Regions from separate parts of the Homo sapiens genome. Here region 1 is linked to region 2. The links are contacts of gene promoters, found by promoter capture Hi-C in human tissues and cell types (Jung and others, 2019). All regions are on one chromosome and are shown on one strand. Each heading gives the region's core, a stretch centred on a gene start or on the middle of the fragment in contact. The rest is flanking DNA. Distances are from core to core; before and after follow the strand shown. Region 1 has its middle 16 kb from the start of DEGS1. Region 2 holds the start of FBXO28 (F-box protein 28).

What was found. Contacts are between HindIII fragments. The study calls those that stand out against the background at their distance.
Region 1: a contact is called between a fragment that was not itself captured here and the fragment with the promoter of FBXO28 in region 2, in 1 of the 25 tissues and cell types used here (H1 embryonic stem cells).

What each region holds. Positions count from the first base shown.
Region 1 is chr1:224,163,610-224,170,017 of GRCh38, forward strand. No RefSeq gene overlaps it. Among named protein-coding and RNA genes, the nearest start is that of DEGS1, 16 kb to the right of the region's middle. RefSeq lists an enhancer at 5,512-6,408. The HindIII fragment of the contact is 7,720 bases long and covers 1-6,116 here.
Region 2 is chr1:224,109,453-224,116,224 of GRCh38, forward strand. FBXO28 (F-box protein 28) reads left to right here and starts at 4,659. Exons shown (of 5, transcript NM_015176.4): 1 at 4,659-4,944. The coding sequence starts at 4,678. It overlaps LOC105373056 (a long non-coding RNA gene), which reads right to left and starts at 4,588. Exons shown (of 3, transcript XR_007066897.1): 1 at 4,483-4,588; 2 at 1,311-2,077. RefSeq lists enhancers at 4,302-4,431, 4,452-4,511, 4,652-4,721. The HindIII fragment of the contact is 33,635 bases long and covers 1-6,772 here.

The DNA of each region.
Region 1 (6,408 bases), core at 1,007-3,506, 52 kb after region 2:
GCTACTGTGTATCCCAGTCTTCAGAAGGTAGATGAGGGTGGAAATTTGAATTTTCATATTCTCCAGGTGGCTCAATTGCTGTGTAATAGATTCACGTTATTAGAAACCAAGGATCTTCACCAGTATTCTTGCTTTTTTGCTTTTCTTTAAAAACTTTTTTTAAAAGATCTCACCTGTATGAACTTTCCCATGTTAATTGCTGAACCAATTCTTACAGAATTCATTAAAGATGATGTTCTTTCCAAAAAGATGTATCTCAACTCGCTGGTATACATTCCTCTGGTTTTTTTGTTTGTTTGTATGGAGTCTCTGTCGCCCAGGCTGGAGTGCAGTGGCGTGATCTTGGCTCACTGCAACCTCCGCCTCCTGGGTTCAAGTGATCCTCCTGCCTCAGCTTCCCAAGTAGCTGGGATTACAGGCGTGCGCCACCATTCCCACCTAATTTTTGTATTTTTAGTAGAGATGGGGTTTCACCATGTTGGCCAGGCTGGTCTCGAACTCCCGACCTCAGGTGATATGCCCGCCTCGGCCTCCCAAAGTGCTGGGATTACAGGCGTGAGCCACCACACCCGGCCTACATCCCTCTGGTTTCTGATTAATCATTTCCTCAAAGCAAAATTAGAGTAAATCGTACACAGAAGAAATATGAGCAGTTGGGTGTTTGAGCAAAATGTACAACTGATAACTGGAAAGGAAATACAAATCAAAGATAAACTTCCCCTAATTCAATAAATTCTGTTCAAAGAGACGCAACTAAATAGCTTTCAACTTTCTCAGCTTTTGTGTTTTTAAACTCTTTTTTTCCTCTTGTCCTTTGGATTGTACAAAAGTCAAATTCAAATTAACTGATTTGTTAGGAATCTGTGATGCAGCAATGTAAATAGCAAAACTGACTCCAGAATACAACACCTAAGATATACTTTCCTGTGATAAGACAAGGGGAACATGCTTCCCTCCGCAAGGCCAAGCCAAAGAGAATTAGCTGGGGTGGGGTAAAGAAGAGAGGGCTAAACTGCTTGTTCTTTCTTTGGAGAGTTGGAGCAAGCTTACAAGAAAGTGCTCTTTAGATAAACAGTTTCTGTAACTCTACTGTAAGAGGACACTGCCTGTTACAGTGTAGCCCATGGATCAACAGCCTCAATCACCTAGGAGCTTCTGTGAAATGTAGAATCTCAGGCCCCATTCCAGAATCAAATCTGCATTTTAACAAGATCACCTGGTGATTAGTTTGCACATTAAAATTTGAGAAATGCCACTGTAAGGCACATTTGTCATTTTGAATCTAAATGCTAAACAACCCTTAGCTCCCTATATTTAGCAATAACAAAGAAAATGGAGAGAGAGAAGAGAGGAAGGAGAGTAAAAGGGAGGAGAAAGCAGGAAGAAAATACAAAAGTTAGTATTGGTCAGGGACAGTTCTTGAAACCAGTAGAGGTCATGACCATCAGCCATCCCAAACAGAAAACAGTTTCATCGCCTTTGGTGTCTTTTTTTTTTTTTTTTTTTTTTTGAGACGGAGTCTCCCTCTGTCGCCCAGGCTGGAGTGCAGTGGCGCGATTTCAGCTCACTGCAAGCTCCGCCTCCCAGGTTCACGCCATTCTCCTGCCTCAGCCTCCCGAGTAGCTGGGACTACAGGCGCCCACCACCTCGCCTGGCTAATTTTTTGTATTTTTAGTAGAGATGGGGTTTCACCACGTTAGCCAGGATGGTCTTGATCTCCTGACCTCGTGTTCCGCCCGCCTCTGCCTCCCAAAGTGCTGGGATTACAGGCTTGAGCCACCGTGCCCGGCCAGGAAATTTATATTACAATTCCCACCAGTATCAATCCAGTCACTATCATTTGAGAATAAAGAAATTATTTTTAAAAATACACTTTGGGAGGCCAGGGTGGGAGGATCGCTTGCATCTAGGAGTTCACGACCAGCCTGGGCAACATACCAAGACTTCGTCTCTACCAAAAACAAAAATTTTAAATTTAAAAATTAAAAAAAAAAAAATTAGCCAGGCTTGGTGGCATACACCTGTAGTCCCAACTACTTGGGAGGCTGAGAAAGGAGGATCGCTTGAGCCCAGGAGGTCAAGGCTGCAGCGAGCTGCCACTGCACTCAGCCTGAGTGACAGTAAGACCCTGTCTCAAAAAATAATAATAAAATATCCATCAATAGGAGACAGGGTTCATAAATTGGGATATATCCTTACAATAGAATACTAGGCACCAGTAAAAATAAGAAAATTATCTATATGCTAAGAAATATTTCTGGCCGGGCATGGTGGCCCATGCCTGTAATCCCAGCACTTTGGGAGGCCAAGGTGGGCAGATCACTTGAGGTCAGGAGTTCAAGACCAGCCTGGCCAACATGGTGAAACCCCATCTCTACTAAAAATACTAAAAGTAGCTGGGCATGGTGGTAGGTACCTGTAATTCCAGCTACTCGGGAGGCTGAGGCAGGAGAATCGCTTGAACCCGGGAGGCAAAGGTTGCAGTGAGCTGAGATCATGCCACTGCACTCCAGCCTGGGAGACAGAGCGAGACTACGTCTCAAAATGAAAAAAAAAAAAAAAAGGCCAGCGTGGTGGCTCATGCCTGTAATCCCAGCACTCTGGGAGACCGAGGTGGGTGGGTCACCTGAGGTCAGGAGTTTGAGGCCAGCCTGGCCAGTGTGGTGAAACCCTGTCTCTACTAAAAAATCCAAAAAGTAGCCAGGCATGGTGGCGTGTGTCTGTAATCTCAGCTACTCAGGAGGCTGAGGCAGGAGAATCACTTGAACCCAGGAGGTGGAGGTTGCAGTGAGCTGAGATTGTGCCACTGCACCCCAGCCTGGGAGACAGAGTGAGACTCTGTCTCTAAAAGAAAAAAATATATATGTATTTCCAAGACTGCTAAGGGAAATAACAAAATACAGAACAATATTACAGTATACTAACTTTTGTGAAAAATAAAGAGGGAAATAATATAGAGTCATGCTGAATAACCACATTTCAGTCAACAAGCAGCAGCATATTTTATGACAGTCCCATAAGATTATACTACCATATTTTTACTGCTTCTTTTCTATGTTTATGTGTTTAGATACACAAATACCACTGTGCTACAAGTGCCTACAGTATTCAGAACAGTAACATGCCATACAGTTTTGTAGTCTAGCATCAATAGGCTGTACCATATAGCCTAGGTGTATATAGTAGGCTAAACCATCTAGGTTTGTGTAAGTAAACTCTATTATATTCATACAACAAAATCACTTGATGCATTTCTGAGAGCACATCCCCATCTTTAAGCAGTTCATGACTGTACTGCTAAGTAGTGGCATGCATATGCATAAAGAAACTCTAGGCCGGGCACGGTGGATCATGCCTGTAATCCCAGCACTTTGGGAGGCTGAGGGGGGCAGATCACTTGAGGTCAGGAGTTTGAGACCAGCCTGGCCAACATGGCGAAATCCCACCTCTACTAAAAATACAAAAATTAGGCAGGCATGGTGGTCTGTGCCTGTAGTCCCAGATACTCAGGAGGCTGAGGCAGGAGGATCACTTGAATCTGGGAGTCAGAGGTTGCAGTGAGCTGAGATTACACCACTGCACTCCAGGCTGGGAGAAAGAGTGAGATTCCATGTCAAAAAAAAAGAAAGAAAAGAAAAGAAAAAAAAATTCTAGAAAAATGCACAGGGAATCAATAACAGTGGTTATATTTTGGGGTTTGACAACATAACAACAGGAACAGGAGCTGGGAGGAGCTTATCACTAGACACCTGTATGTTTTTCTATTTTTTTTTTGAGACGGAGTCTCGCGCTGTCGCCCAGGCTGGAGTGCAGTGGCGCGATCTCGGCTCACTGCAAGCTCCGCCCCTCGGGGTTCACGCCATTCTCCTGCCTCAGCCTCCCGAGTAGCTGGGACTACAGGCGCCCGCCGCTACACCCGGCTAATTTTTTGTATTTTTAGTAGAGACACGGTTTTACCATGTTAGCCAGGATGGTCGCGATCTCCTGACCACGTGATCCGCCTGCCTCGGCCTCCCAAAGTGCTGGGATTACAGGTGTGAGCCACCGCGCCCGGCCATGTTTTTCTATTTTTAAACCATGGAAGTGTATTCAACAATTAAACCAGCTGCTATAGACTGAAAGTTTGTGTCCCCGCAAAATGTATGCCTTGAAGCCTAATCCTCAAGGGGAGGAGACTAGGAGGTTGGGCTTTGGGGAGGTGATTATGTTCATGAGGGTGAAGTCTTCATGAATGGGGTTAGTGTTCTTTTAAAAGAGACACCAGGCTGGGTGCGGTGGCTCACGCCTGTAATCCCAGCACTTTGGGAAGCCGAAGCAGGCGGGTCACCTGAGGTCAGCAGTTTGAGACCACCCTGGCCAACATGTGAAACCCCATCTCTACTAAAAATACAAAAATTAGCCAGGCATGGTGGGGTGCACCTGTAGTCCCAGTTACTTGGGAGGCTGAGGCAGGAGAATTTCTTGAACCCAGGAAGCAGAGGTTGCAGTGAGCTGAGATCATACCATTGCACTCCAGCCTGGGTGACAGAGCGAGACTCCATCTCAAAAAAATTAATTAATTAATTAATTAATTAAATAAAAGGGACCTCAGAAAACTCCTTCACCTCTTCTGCCATGTGAGGTTATAGCCAGAAGACGGCCATCCACGAACAAGGAAGCAGCCCCTCACCAGATACTGAATATGCCAGTGCCTTGATCTTGGACTTCCCAGGCTCCAGAATTTTTTTTTTTTTTTTTTGAGACGGAGTCTCTGTCACCCAGGCGGGAGTGCAATGGCACGATCTGGGCTCACTGCAACCTCTACCTCCCGAGTTCAAGCGATTCTCCCACCTCAGCCTCCCGAGTAGCTGGGATTACAGGCATGCGCCACCATACCTGGCTAATTTTGTATTTTTAGTAGAGATGAGGTTTCTCCATGTTGCTCAGGTTGGTCTCAAACTCCCGACCTCAGGTGATCCACCCACCTCAGCCTCCCAAAGTGCTGGGATTACAGGGGTGAGCCACCACGCCCAGCCTAATTTTTGTATTCTTAGTAGAGACGGGTTTTCACCATGTTGGCCAGGCTGGTTTCGAACTCTTGACCTTGTGATCCATCCGCTTTGGCCTCCCAAAGTGCTGGGATTATAGGCGTGAGCTACTGTGCCTGGCCAGACTGTTTTCTTAAAAACCAAAAGCCTGGGAAGAAAAACAAAATATCTTGCAAATGTATTCTCAATCCCAGTCAATCCCCTGCAAAACTCAGACTCTGGAAGAATGAAAGCTATGCGCTCTTTTCTCCACTCATTCATATTGTTGGCTTCACACAGATAGAAAAAGCTACTTCATCCTGCAGAACTGCTCTATCAGTTCATGGTGTTTTCCTGGATCCTGGACCCCTGCCTTCCCCACCATGAGTCACCTCTGGATCGAGTCCATCTTCTATTTGGGATTTGGAACCAGACAACCTTTGTCCCTTTTTAGCCTCTGCTGCACTCTAAGCTGTGTGATCTAAGACACGTCACTCACATTCTGGAAGTATTCGCTTCCTCATACATGAAATGGGGGAAATTTCTCTAACCATAAGCCTGCGGTTTTGATTTCAGTGCTCACTAGTTCAAGACTTTTCTTCTTGCCTATGCCCCTTCACCCTCTTCCTTTGTCAATTTCCTTTTTCATAAGCTGTGGCTGCTGGTGAGTAAAATAGTCATCTGAGTACAACTGCTTTTGCATGAGCTAGACTTGGAAGGGTGCAAATGGAAGCAGATTCATTTCTTCTCAGTAACTGCTCTTTTAGACTGTCCTGTTGCATTGTTCTGCCCTGATCCCAGAAGGAATCTCAGGCAGATCCCAGAGCCTTGTAGACTCTCCTGGTCACTAACAAATTAATCACCTTTATCCAGTTATTAAAAAATCCAGCCCGATCCGAAGAAAGACTTTATTGTCTCAATTGATTAAAGCTTCTTTCCTCTTTTTTTTCTCTTTTTTTGAGACGGAGTCTTGCTCTGTCGCACAGGCTGGAGTGCAGTGGTGCGATCTTGGCTCACTGCAGCCTCCACCTCCCGGGTTCAAGCGATTTTCCTGCCTCAGCCTCCCAAGTAGCTGGGATTACAGGTGCCTGCCACCAAGCCCAGCTAATTTTTGCATTTTTAGTAGAGACGGGGTTTCGCCATGTTGGACAGGCTGGTCTTGAACTGCTGACCTCAGGTGATCTGCCTGCCTTGGCCTCCCAAAATTCTGGGATTACAGGCATGAGCCACTGTGCCCTCCCGCTTCTTTCTTCTTTCTGTAAGTCAGGCCTGAGTTGGACTTCGGAGAAGCTTTGAGTTGGGCTTCTCCTTTTCAGTGGAGAAGGGCAGGAAGGAGGATGTCTTCCATTTATTCTCTTTGCTTTTCCTCCTCCCCCTCCTGCAAGACTCTCTGCTGTCTAAC
Region 2 (6,772 bases), core at 3,409-5,908:
TCTAGTTTTAATTAAAAAGGTAGAAAATGAATTTAATTAAGACTAAGTTGTAATGGGTTCTATGAAGAGATAGCAATATCATAGAAGAAAAGTAAAATTACAATCTATTAGTGGAGATAAAACTAACATATTATAAATATGCAAACATGTCAGAAAGAGTCAATCATAAAGCATATGTTGAATGCTAAACAACCCAAAGTAGGAGAATCAAAGGAACAACTTCAAAACTTTTGCAACAATCATAGGTAAAATGATAATTGTTCACATGCCAAGTGAATGGGGAAAGGATGCCAATTCTAACAAGCTCAACACCACCAATTAATTTCTTTGCTTCAGTTGCCCCCACTTCCCTTAACCTTTAGTCATACTTAGTTTTTTCTGCAGTTTTCACATCTACTGTGCAAACATTAGATTCCAAAAGAAAGCTACAAAAGAAAGGACATATTGGAAGCTTTAAGAATAAGACCAAAGCACTAGGGAGAAGAAAGCTTCAAAATTTAATGATTTGGCAGGCATGGTGGCTCATGTCTGTATCCCAGCACTTTGGGAAGCTGAAGTGAGAAGATTGCTTGAGCACAGGAGTTCAAGACCAGCCTGGACAATATAGTAAGACCTCATCTCTACAAAAAATTTAAAAAGTAGCCAGGCATGGTGGCGCACACCTGTAGTCCCTACTTGGTAGGCTGAGGTAGGAACATTCCTTGAGCCCAGGAGGTCAAGGCTGCAGTAAGCCATGATCATGCCACTGCACTACAGCCTGGGCAACACAGTGAGACCCTGTCTAAAAAAAAATAGTGACTTGTATACCTTTATCTTTGTCATAGGATATTATAAGTATACAAACATACAGAAAGTTTAGGCAACCTTTAAATTTTTTTTCTGAAATAATTACAAGATAGTACAAGGAAGACTCTGGTATACCCTTCAACCAAATTCATCAATTAATAACATTTGCTGTATTTGCTATATTAACCTCATTCTCTATCTATTTACTTGAACCATTTGAAAGTAATTTGAGGCATCATTTCCCTCTACCCATAAATACAGAAATACCTCTGAGATATTGAGAGTTAGACCACACAGGCCACCATAATAAAGCAAGTAGTGCAATAAACCCAGTGACACAAGTAAGTTTTGGTTCCCAGTGCATATAAAAGTTATGTTTATATAAAACTGTAGTCTATTAAGTGTGCAATAGCATTATGTCTAAAAAATGATATACTTTAATTTTAAAATATTTTATTGCTAAAAAATGCTAATCATCTGAGCCTTTGGTGAATCATAATCTTTTTGCTGGTAGAGGGTCTTACCTCAATTTAACAGCTGCTGATCGATCAGGATGGTAGTTACTGAAGGTTAGGGTGGCTGTGGCAATTTTCTAAAATAAGATAGCAATGAAGTTTGATACACTGATTGACTCTTTCACAAAGATTTTTTCCATGGCATATGATGCTGTTTGATAACATCTTGCCACAGTAGACCTTTTTTCAAAATTGGAGTCAATCTTCTCAAACTCTGCCATTGCTTTATCAACTAAGTTTATGTAATATTCTAAATCCTTTGTTGTCTTTTAATAATGATCACAGCATCTTCACCAGGAACAGATTCCATATGAAGAAATCACTTGCTTTGCTCATTCATAAGAAGCAACTCCTCATCCATTCAATCCATTCAAGTTTGGCTTTTTTTCTTTTCTTTTTTGAGCTGGAATCTCGCTCTGTTGCCTAGGCTGGAGTGCAGTGGCACGATCTCAGCTCACTGCAACCTCTGCCTCCCAGGTTCCAGCAATTCTCCTGCCTCAGCCTCCCGAGTAGCTGGGATTATAGGCGCATGCCACCACGTCTGGCTAATTTTTGTACTTTTAGTAGAGAAGGGGTTTTGCCACATTGGCCAGGCCGGTCTCGAACTCCTGACCTCAGGTGATCCACCCACCTGGGGCTCCCAAAGTGCTGGGATTACAGGCGTGAGCCACCGCACCCGGCCTCCATTCAAGTTTTATCATGAGATTGCAGCAACAATTTAGTCACATCTTCAGGCTTCACTTCTAATTCCAGTTCTCTTGCTATTTCCACCATAGCTGCAGGAGAAGAAGAGAGATGGGGAAACAGCAGCCAGTCAGAACACCTACATGTATTGATTAAATTTGCCGTCTTATATGGGTATGATTGGTGGCACCTCAAAACAATTACAATAGTAACATAAAGATTACTGATCTGCCAGGCATGGTGGCTCACTCTCGTAATCTCAACACTTTGGGAGGCCAAAGCAGGCAGACTGCTTGAGCACAAGAGTTCAAGGCCAGCCTGGGCAACGTGGCAAAACCCTGTTTCTACAAAAAAAAATCAAAAATTATCCAGGTGTGGTGGCACACACCTGTAGTCCCAGCTACTCAGGAGGCCAAGGTTGGGGGATTGCTTGAACCCAGGCGGTGGAGGCTACAGTGAGCCATCATCCTGTCATTGCACTCCAGTCTGGGCAACAGAGCAAGATGCTGCCTCAATAAACAAAAAAAATTACTGATCACAGCTCACCATAACAGATATAACAATAATAAAAAGTTTTAAATATCAGAGGAATTATCAAAATGTGACAGAAAGAAACAAGGTGAACACATGCTGTTGGAAAAATGGCACCAAGAGACTTGCTCAAGGGTTGCCACAAACCTTCAATTCATTTTTAAAAACGCAATATCTGAGAAGCACAAGAAAGCAAAGTGTAAAATACAAAGCATGCGGCCGGGCGCCATTGCTGCCTGTAATCCCAGCACTTTGGGAGGCTGAGGTGGGTGGATCACAAGGTCAGGAGTTCGAGAGCAGCCTGGCCAAGATGGTGAAATCCCGTCTCTACTAAAAATACAAAAATTAGCCAGACGTGATGGTGGGCGCCTGTAATCCCAGCTACTCAGGAGGCTGAGGCAGGAGAATTGCTCGAACCAGCTGACATCGCACCACTGCACTCTAGCCTGGGTGACAGAGCAAGACTCCATCTCAAAAAAATAAATAAATAAATAAAGGAAAATAATAGAAGCATGCTTATCCTTCAATGTGTATTTCCTAAAGACAAAGACATTGTCTTATATGACCATAATACAATTACCCAAATCGAAAAATTTAATATGATTACAGTATAATCTAATATACTGTCCATTTTTAAATTTTGCCAGTTGTCACAATAACGTTCTTCATAGTTATTTCTTCCTTAATCCAGGATCCCATCCAGGATCACCCATAGATTTAGTTGCCCTGTCTCTTTAGTATCCTTTAATCTGCCACAAACCCTTAGTCTTTGTCTTTTGTAACGTTAACACTTTTGAATAATTTATGGGCCCGTCATCTAGCGATGTCTACCTCAAACGCAACTCGTGCTTTTTTTGCATGAATACTACATTATGCTGCGTCCTTTTCAGGGTATTATATTAATAGGCATATGATATTGGCTCCTCCTATAACTGTGGCGTTAGTCTTGATCATTTGGTTATGATGGTGTCCACCAAATTTCTCTATTGTAAACTTTTTTTTTTTTTCTCGCTCTGTTGCCCAGGCTGGAGTGCAGTGGCAGGCTGACGGTTCGCTGCAGCCTCGAACTCGTGTGGCTCAAGCAATCCTCCCATCTCAGCCTCACGAGTAGCTAGGACCATAGGACCTAGCCACCACATTTGGCTAATTTTTTGTATTTTTTGTAGAGATGGGGTTTCTCCACGTTGCCCAGGCTGGTCTCCAACTTCTGGGCTAAAGTGATTCTCCCGCTTCAGCCTTCCAAAGTGCTGGATTACAGGCGTGAGTCAACACGCCCAGCCTTGTAAACTATTTCTTTTCATCTTTGTAAATAATACATAATTTATGGGGAGTTATTTTGAGACTATGGAAATATCATGTTCCTCATCACGTTTACCTCCTAGTTTTAGTACCTTTTGATGATTCTTGCCTAAATCAGTTATTAGAATACAATTCATATATGATAAAATTCATTAAAGTATATAGTAATTCAGTGGTTTTTGTATATTCATACGGTTGTGTAACCATCACCGCTAATTCCAGAGCATTTTTATCACCCCGAAAATGAAACCCTTCACCCATTAGCACTCATTTCCCCATTTCCCCCAGCCTCTGGCGACCACTAATCTACTTTTTATCTCTATGGATTTGCCTATTTAAGACATCCTATATAAATGCAATCATACAATATGTGGTCCTTTGTGTCTAACTTATTTCACTTAATATGTTCTCACGGTTCATTCATGTTGTAGTTCTTATTGATATTTCATACCTTTTTATTTGCCTAAATCAATCATTTCTATGATTCCTAAAAAATGGTGCTAGTCTAACTACATTATTTCCATCTACACTTACTAGGCAACATCTTTATCATCCATTGTCAGGAAGCCCTTTAAGAAAACTGCACAGTGAAGTTCATTTTAATAAATAGGGTTTCCTTGCTCTCAAGTAGTTACTAATCTTAGACAAAAGGGTCTAGGATGACCACCTTTCTTGAGGTTTACATGATCTTCCCTGACTTCCACTTGAAAGGCACCCTGTGAGTCTCTCTCCGCCTGTTATCCCACAGGCTCCTCCCCACTCCTCCAGGTACCCCTTCCCCGGCGGCTGCAGGAGGAGGAAGTGACGCACCGGAAGTGTCCCTGTTCCCCTTGCTGTGGGGGTAAGGAATCAAGCCCCCAAGATGGCGGCAGCGGCGGAGGAGCGGATGGCAGAGGAAGGAGGCGGCGGCCAAGGCGACGGCGGTTCCTCTTTGGCCTCCGGCTCTACCCAGCGACAGCCTCCACCGCCCGCGCCACAGCACCCGCAGCCGGGGTCCCAGGCGCTCCCAGCCCCCGCGCTGGCTCCGGACCAGCTGCCTCAAAACAACACGCTTGTGGCGCTGCCCATCGTAGCCATCGAGAACATCCTCAGCTTTATGTCCTACGACGAAATTAGCCAGCTCCGCCTGGTGAGGCCCCCGCAGAACTCCTGCCTCCCTCTCCCCCCGGCCGAGGTCTGGGAGATGAGAAGGGAGCGCGTTCCCCGGGAAGGGAGCCCCCCGCGAGCCCCAGCCGGCTACAGATCTGGGAGGGAGCCGCTCCCGTCCCGAACTCTCCCTTGGCGTCAGTCAGCAGGAGTGGGCTGGTTCCCGATTGCGTCCTAGCTGCGGAGCTGGGGTTACTTCCTGAGGGGACTTCGCCTTGGGGGCTCCTTGCCCCCCGCCCGGAAGCGGGCCCTCTACGGGAGGGGTAGCGGAGTTGGTCTTCCCACCTTCCGCCTGGCCCGAGAGTAGACCCGGAGAGGTCATGTCGCCTGCCTTTTGTATGCCGCTTCCAGCCCCCGGCCTGGGTTTGGGGAGAAAACTCAGAAGTAGGCAGATGATCCCAGCCAGGTTTGGTTTATCTTGCAAGAATAACGAATTGTTCCCCACCCCAACCACCCAAGTTTTCTTGTTCGAGAAGATTGAGTAGACTAAGGTGGCTCAGTGACCCCAAACCCAGGTAGAGGTTCCGAAGAATTCGAACGTGTTTACTTAGCGTTAGCCCCAGCGCCCTAATTGACCACTAAAGTAGAGCCTTGGGAAATGACCATTCCTGCTTTGCCTCATCCTAACGCTTCCCACCGTAGAGAAGCAACTTACCCCTTGACGGGTTTTTTCTCTTTTGCAATTTATTTTTAACTAGTGATTTACGCCCACCCACCTGCTTTAGGAGAGGTTTCTTTATACCTTAAAATCACAATAGGTCAGTCCATGATTTTTAAAAATAATGAATTTGCCATTGGGGTTTTACTTCACTCCAGAGGTTTGAAGATGTGGTGATTGTTAGTTCAGTTAGATATTTTGCTGCCTTTCAATGAAATTATCTTTAAGTGGTAAAGAAATTGAAGGAGGTGGACATTTTGAAGTGATTGCAAACCGATTCCATGGAGAAGCTAAATCTGTGCTGGGAATTGTTTTTAAGAGGACAAAGATATTTCTGAATGTGCTGTGTATAACATCTTCTTATTACTCAATATGCTATATTGTAGGCATACACCTCCACTTTCAAGTGGATTATAATTACATTTTTAAAGGAAATCATAACATTTTTAAAAGAGAACTTATAAATATTAATTCAAACTGATGGCCAATTTTTTTTCTAGTCAACACAGCAGTTCAACCATGCCAGTCTGCAGGATGGAAAATTTCTTCAGCTGAAAATAGATATTTCACAATTGATTGCCTCTGAATTTCCAAAACGTTTTCATTCTAGAATTTCATGTAGAATCTTAAATATTCCTTCAGATTTTTACAAACAGTGGCGTTTAATCAAAATTCGCGCTGTACATATACAGTGTTTGGAAAATTGGGCATATAACATTTGATTGAATTGAACCATTCAACCAGACAATGGCTTTGTAAATCTTGGAATATTCACAGTTCTGTTTTGTAAGTGTTGAGAAAAACTGAGTTTTATTTGTTTGTTGATCATTTTACTATTTTAAAAAAATGTAGTGGGGAGGGGGGAACCAGCCTGTCCTAACTAGAGTTAAAACACATCCCACAACTTATGAATAAATGACATCTCTGTCAGGTGAGATATTCAGCTGCATTCTTAATTTTTAAGCAGTTTTCTGGCCTTTTAAGGTTATAAATTTATAATTTCAAACTCAGATTTTTCATAAGGAGTCCCTTCAGTACAACTGCCCACCCCCAGGAAAAGATTCTGCCCCGTTTTACATGTGCAAATATGATTTTTGAGTAATGGGGAACTATTTTTTTTACTTAAGGCTAATGGATAATTCTTGAATAGATT